2 separate regions of the Homo sapiens genome follow, and region 2 is linked to region 1. Evidence: promoter capture Hi-C in 16 types of primary human blood cells and fetal thymus (Javierre and others, 2016). All regions are on one chromosome and are shown on one strand. Each heading gives the region's core, a stretch centred on a gene start or on the middle of the fragment in contact. The rest is flanking DNA. Distances are from core to core; before and after follow the strand shown. Region 1 holds the start of GSAP (gamma-secretase activating protein). Region 2 has its middle 7.7 kb from the start of YWHAG.

The links. The method cuts DNA at HindIII sites, captures the fragments that hold promoters and counts their contacts. A CHiCAGO score of 5 or more calls a contact.
Region 2: a contact is called between a fragment that was not itself captured here and the fragment with the promoter of GSAP in region 1, in 1 of 17 cell types (M0 macrophages). The highest score is 6.0, in M0 macrophages.

The regions. Positions count from the first base shown.
Region 1 is chr7:77,414,542-77,418,091 of GRCh38, reverse strand. GSAP (gamma-secretase activating protein) reads left to right here and starts at 1,743. Exons shown (of 31, transcript NM_017439.4): 1 at 1,743-1,879. The coding sequence starts at 1,771. LOC101927243 (a long non-coding RNA gene) reads right to left here and starts at 2,894. Exons shown (of 5, transcript NR_110073.1): 1 at 2,744-2,894. RefSeq lists silencers at 1,448-1,797, 2,018-2,227, 2,288-2,577. The HindIII fragment of the contact is 1,753 bases long and covers 542-2,294 here.
Region 2 is chr7:76,364,937-76,368,486 of GRCh38, reverse strand. No RefSeq gene overlaps it. Among named protein-coding and RNA genes, the nearest start is that of YWHAG, 7.7 kb to the right of the region's middle. RefSeq lists enhancers at 3,543-3,550, 3,318-3,550. The HindIII fragment of the contact is 7,431 bases long and covers 1-3,550 here.

The sequences.
Region 1 (3,550 bases), core at 494-2,993:
AAAAGAGAGGTAGCATCCTCTTTTTATTCCTCTTCTTCCATTCTGATTTCTGGAATGCAGACGTGAAGGCTGAAGCTTCTGCAGCCCTCTTTGATCATGAGGACAAGGGTACACTCAGGATCAGGTGGAGCAAAGAACTGGAAGGAGCCTGGGTCCCTGATAAATTCAGGAACCTGCCCTAAGAGCTTTATTCTGCCTACGTCCAGCTAGGTGACAGAATAAAACTTGTGTGTTTAATTTACTGTTAATCTGAGTTCTTATTAACTTCTGGAGAATCTAATCCTAACTGATACACATGCCTTCATATAGCACCCTCATGATTTTGGCCACATCTTTCTATCATTATCTTATTGTTTCTCACCTTCTTTACATTGGCTTTTTCACTTAATTTGAAGAGAATTTTTTATATCATCACTGCTTGACTATAAAATCAGTCCTGCCTGGCAAAAATAGAAGTTAACTGCAAAAATAAAAACAATGGAAATGTACTGACTTTAAAAAATTGGCCAACAGTGTTTCTGTATGACAAAGGCAACAAGCTTATTTGATATGAAATAGTTGCATTAGCTCCTTGGGGGCTCCAGTGGCCTTCCTTTTATTCACTGATAATATTAGCAGCTTCATTAGGCATTTATCTTAAATTTGCATGCACTTCCCGGGTGGGAGGACTTTCCTCTGTATATGGTGGTGAGTAATGGAGTTCTACCTGAAATCATCCATTACCTCAGTTGGAGAAACATGTCTCTAGGAGGGAAAAAAATTCAAGACTTTCTTTTACATTTGGTTGGAGTAGTTTTCAAACTTAGTAAGCCTAAGAATCACCCGAGGCTCTGGGTAAAATGCACGTTTCTGGTCTTGTCCAGGTGTAGAGATCAGGAGTCTGCATTGTAAAATAGTGCCCCAGATGACGTCAATACAAGTAGTTTTCAGACCTTAATTTCGGAAGCATGTGAAAAAGCATTCTTTATTACTGTATTCACTCATTCTTCAGTAATTGTCGAGCACCTTCCAGAGTGCTCTGTTAGACCCTGGTGGGAGGCAGAGGGTTTGCGTGGAGACTTAAGATTCAGTTTTCATGTCTCAAGGCATCAAATGAGATGTACTAGAGTTAAAAGGCAAAAAGGACGCTGTTTGTATCAAGCGCATTAACCCCTTTTAGCGTTTCTCTTACAATGGGATCACCTTCGTCATACGCTCCCAGTTGCTACTCATTACCTTAATAACACTAATAAAGCACCACCACCTCGAAGCTGGGGCGAATAGGCCCAAGAGACGGCCTACTTCTGTGGTGACCCTGAACTGCTCCAGAGGACCCAGCTCTCTCAAGCCAAGTGGTTTCCACACTTTGCTGCACAGTGGAGGCACTTGTAGAATAAAGAAAATAGGCCGACCCTCCAGGTTTGGAAGCCACTGGGCTAGCGGCCTCGCCAAGGCCCTGAAGCGCCCACGTCTTTGCGCCCTCTATCCTCAGCCCCGAAGGTGCGCGCGGAGGCCTCCCGCCCCGGCGGGCCTGGTCCTGGCGCCTGGTCCACCCCGCCCCACCGCTACCCGCCGTGCCCGGCTCCGGCTCCGGCTCAGGTGCGGGCCGCCGGCCGGGAGGAGCTGGTGCCGGAGCTTCTCAGGCCAGGGCGCTGCAGAACCGAAAGCAGCAGGGGGCGGGGGAGAGGAAAGAGGGGGCGGGAGCGGGGACGCGAGGGCGAGGCGGCCACGCGGGGCCGGGAATGCCCGCGGTGCGGGGCCCCAGAGCCGCCCGGTGGTCGTGTCCGGGCGATGGCTCTTCGCCTGGTCGCCGACTTCGACCTCGGGAAGGACGTGCTCCCGTGGTTGCGGGCGCAGCGGGCAGTGTCGGAGGCCAGCGGGGCCGGAAGCGGCGGCGCAGGTGCGGGAGGCGCGCTGCGGAGAGGGGTGGGGGCGGGGAGTGGGAGTCCCTCATACCCCCCGGACTCCGACCCGGTGGGGAGCAACCCGGGGCGTCGCCGCCCTGAGAAGGCTGGTGCGAGGGCGTCGCTCCCCTCCTCAGAGGGCTGTTTTGGCTTTGCCACCCACACCCAGCCACGGCGGAAGGTCTGGGGGCAGAGCCCGGGCCAGGTCGCCGTGGGGCCTGAGGCGCCTGGCTCGCTGCCGGCCCGCGGAAATTCGCCCTTGGCAGAGGGGCCGGGCCGCTGGCGGTTCCCTCAGCATCACCTCACGGCGAGGGCAGAGGGTCGTGCTCAGCTCAGCGGCCGCATCCCACCTCCCGGGGGGTTCATCGGCAGCGCAGGGGCTTTGCCAAGACAGGAGTGCTCCTGGAAGCTTCACGTTTTGAGAAAGAATCCGTGACCACCAAGCAAACCACCCTATACCTAACGGTGGAACAGTTTGTCCCCACATTTGCGAGACGTGTTTATGTGTCTGTTGAACCGTGTCCGTGGCTCAGGGGACATGGGCCTCGGCGGTGAGGCGCAAGAGGGCAGGGGCCGCCTCCAGGCTGCGCGCGGCGGGGCGAGAGCCCCCAGCCGCCCCCGAGCTCCGCACCTGTGCAGGCTGGGGCTGCGCGCGAGATGCTCGGCTCCCGGCCCTGCCACTCCGGGCTTTTTGATGATTTGGTAAGGGAGTGAAAGTGACTTTTGAGCCTTCCCAGCACTGATCTGTTTTAAAGAAGGGGAACTTTGTGATTTCTTACAAAGTTTTAAAAGTCTTCTATAAATATTGGAGCTTCAGAGCTTAAATGCAGCTTCAAAGCAATGATGCCTGTAGGTCTCACCTTGTGTGTAGGGCGCTGTCCACTTCAGTGAATTTGGAAGTGGGTATTAAATGACCCACATCTACAACTCCTTTCCCTTAAACGCTGGTGAAAGTTTTCTTGATGTGAGTTATATATCAAGTTGCTATCTTGTATCTTCACACTCTCCTATGACTATAGCGAAATTATTTGTAGGTTTCCTTGGCTTGGAATATTATTAGCTCCAAATAAGGAGTTATATGTTTGTGTAGCGTATGCATTGAGTTTGCATTAGTGTCATGCTTAGTAAGGCTTTACTTTTTTTCGAGGTGGAGAGGGTGGTCAAGGAAGAATTTTATACAAAAATTAGCTGGGCGTGGTGACACGCTCCTGTAATCCCAGCTACTCGGGAGGCTGAGGCAGGAGAATCGCTTGAACCTGGGAGGCAGAGGTTGCAGTGAGCCGAGATCTCGCCACTGCACTCCAGCCTGGGCAACAGAGTAAGTCTCCGTCTCAAAAAAAAAAAAAAAAAAAAAAAAAAAAAAAGTCGCCCACATGTCTGAAAAGTTTTTGAAGGCTTAACTTTTTGAAATACAACAGGCAGCTCTGTCTTCTACTACCAAGTACTCCTTTTTCTGGACTCCCACTTTATTTTGCTAAATGGCAGGTGTCTGCAAATGAGAAGTTAGATGAGTGTGAAATGCCACAGTCTTATGTTTCCGTAATGTGTGTCGTGCTTGAAAAGCTGTGTGTGACCCACTGGGACCTGGCTTCCTTGTATCTTTCGCTCATCTCTGAAGAAATATAAACTTGTGTATTGACCTTCCACTAAACAACAGATAGCTCTAG
Region 2 (3,550 bases), core at 654-3,153, 1.0 Mb after region 1:
CTTGGGAGGTTGAGGGCTGCAGTGAGCCATGATCACACCATTGCACTCCAGCCTGAGTGACAAAGGGAGACGCTGTTGCAATACACACACATATGCACACACACATACACATGCGTGCACACGCACACACACACACACACACCCACATACACACAAGAAAAACCACAGGCTGCCATCATCCCCACCACTATGGGTCCCCCACAAGTCATTTGTCCTCTGTTGGTATTCCAAGTACCAAAACACTCCAGATTCTTCTACGAAGTCGAAGAATACTGCTGTTCATTTCACAGTTCGATTCAAAGGGCATGGTACAGATTTCTCTTTAAGATTCAGTTGGGGAACCCAAGCTCTAGATGGGTAAAGTACTTGGCCTAAGTTCACACAGCTGGGTTTCGGGAGAAGACTGCAGCCCAGGCTCTTCTCCCTCTTGAACATACTTGTCTCTTTGAGACAGTGGCCCATTTTTTTCATGGTGACACACATTCCCTTGGTGGGATAATTTTATTTTATTGTTTAAAGGAGTCTTGCTCTGTCACCCAGGCTGGAGTACAGTGGCGTGATTTCAGCTCACTGCAACCTTTGCCTCCCAGGTTCCAGCAATTCTCCAACCTCAGCCTCCCCAAGTAGCTGGGATTACAGACGTGTACCACCACGTCTGGCTAATTTTTGTATTTTTAGTAGAGACAGGGTTTCATCATGTTGGCCAGAATGGTCTTGAATGCCTGACTTCAAGTTATCCACCCGCCTTGGCCTCCCAAAGTGCTGGGATTATAGGCATGAGGCACTGCACCTGGTCTCCTTTTAAAAAATTGTTTTTGTTTTGTTTTGTTTTGTTTTTTAAAAATTTTTTGAGATAGCGTCTCACTGTGTTGCCCAGGCTGGAGTGCAGTGGCGCCATCATAGCTCACTGCAGCCTCCAACTCCTGGGGTCATGTGATCCTCCCACCTCAGCCTCCCAAAGTGCTGGGGTTATGGGGTTGCAGGTGTGAGCCACAGTGCCTTCCCTGATTCCCTTCTTAAAGCAGAGAGTCTCCTTCATTGAACACAACTTCGCTGAGCACCTGCTCCATGCTAGGCTTGGAGATCAGAGATGGCTCAGACTGAGTCTATGTCTTTCAGGAATATGACCCCAGGGAAGACAGACTCATATACATCTGAGTGCTATATGGTGGTCTGGGCTCTTCTCTAGAGAACATGGCAGGAGAGCCCATGGGGACTGAGGAGAGAGTGGTTAGTTCAACTCAGTGTCTGAGTCTGAAGGATGAGGAGGTCTGGGTCTAATGGGGGTGGGCATAGAAGGAGCTTTCAGCACAAGGAACAGCTTTTGAAAAAGCCCAGACTGGGTCAGGCGCAGTGGTTCACACCTGTAATCCCAGAACTTTAGGAGGCCGAGGCGGGCAGATCACCTGAGGTCGGGAGTTCGAGACCAGCCTGACCAACATGGAGAAACCCCATCTCTAATAAAAATACAAAATTACCTGGGCGTGGTGGCACATGCCTGCAATCTCTTCTACTCAGGAGACTGAGGCAAGAGAATCGCTTGAACCTGGGAGGTGGAGGTTACGGTGAGCTGAGATTGTGCCATTGCACTCCAGCCTGGGCAACAAGAGCAAAACTCTGTCTCAAAAAAAAAGAAAGAAAAGAAAAAAAAAAAAGAAAAGAAAAAGCCCAGACTGCCCAGGTGTGGTGACTCATATGTATAATCCCAGCACTTTGGGAGGTAGAGGCAGGAGGATTGCTTGAGCCCAGGAATTTGGGACCAGCTTGGACAACTAAACATAGACCCTATCTCCACAAAAAAAAAAAAAAAAAATAGAAAATTTTTTTCTACTGGGCGTGGTGGTGTGAGCCTGTATTCCCAGCTGCTCTGAAGGCTAAGGCGGGAGGATCATCTGAACCTAGGAGGTCGAGGCTGCTAGTCCAGCCTGGGCGATAGAGCATGACCCTGTCTCAGAAGAAAAAAAAAAGATATTTTGGATTTTTCACTGGGGAGAATGGAAAGACACTGAGACAGGGCCATTAGCTGAAAAGCTGTTGCTATAAACTGGAAGATCTTAAGACGCATCCACCTGGTTCCTCTATTTTATAGATGCACAATCTGAGAACCAGAGAGGCAAAGTGATTTGCCCAAGGTCACTCAGGAAGATTAATGGCAAAGCCAGTGCTTCAACCTGTGGGTCCTGCCTCCTGGGCTCATGCCTCCTCCACTGGCCTGAGATCCTCAGAAGGAGAGGCAGGTTGCAGAGATTTCCTGTCATTCTTTGCCTCTGCTGCAGGACAGCCTGCTAAGGCAGTGACAGGGAAGTGTTCCCAGAGGACAGGGCGGGGAGCATTGCTGCTTGGCTTCAGAAGATGCTGCTGCTGCCTCTGCACTAATCAGGGAGCTTTCCAGCCACAGGAGGAAGCCAGAAGCCAGGGGATGGGGCTGCGGTGATTTATGACTGCACAGAAACAGCAGGACAATCATGTCCCTGGCTGTCCTGCATGTCTGCCAACCGAGCCGGACAGCATGCATTTAAAAGGTCATGTCCTCCAGTGCTGGAGAAGGGGCTGGAGGGTGCCCTTCGGTCAGGTTGGTCACTCCTTTCCTGAGCAGATGCCAAGGAGGGTAGATCCTGGACAGGAAACAATGCCTTTGCTGCTAAGAGTCTAGGAGGTCTGCCCGGGTTTGAATCCAGGCTCTGTTAGCTGAGACACGGAGAGGCTGTGTGATTTTTGGCTGATCACACAGCCTCTCTGTGTCTCTGCTTCCTTGTCTTAAAAAACAGGGGTGAAGCTGGGCGCGGTGGATCACACCTGTAATCCCAGCACTTTGGGAGGCCGAGGCAGGTGGATCACCTGAGGTCAGGAGTTCGAGATCAGCCCGGCCAACATGGTGAAACCCTGTCTCTACTAAAAATACAAAAATTAGCCGGGCGTGGTGGCACATGTCTGTAATCCCAGCTACTCAGGAGGCTGAGGCAGGAGATCACTTGAACTTGGGAGGCGGAGGTTGTAGTGAGCTGAGATCGCGCCACTGCACTCCAGCCTGGGCAACTGAGCAAGATTCTGTCTCAAAAAAAAAACCAAAAAACAAAAAAAAAACTGGCCGTGCACTGTGGCTCACGCCTGTAATCCCAGCTCTAACTCTTTGGGAGGCCGAGGCAGGCGGATCACCTGAGATCAGGAGTTCGAGACCAGCCTGACCAACATGGAGAAACCCCATCTCTACTAAAAATACAAAAATTAGCCGGGCATGGTGGCGCATGCCCATAATCCCAGCTACTCAGGAGGCTGAGGCAGGAGAATCGCTTGAACCTGGGAGGCAGAGATTGTGGTAAGCTGAGATCGTGCTGTTGCACTCTAGCCTGGGCAACAAGAGCGAAACTCCATCTCAAAAAAAAAAAGAAAAAAAAAGGAAGAGAAGAAAAAGAAAAAAAAAAAAGAAAAGAAGAAAAAAAAAAAAAGAATGCCAGTAGCTTCCATTTCAGAAGAACATGCTGAATCTAGAACTATGACTCATCACAGCTGGGTGGGGCACTTAGTGCTCCTTCAGTTTAATCTCACATTT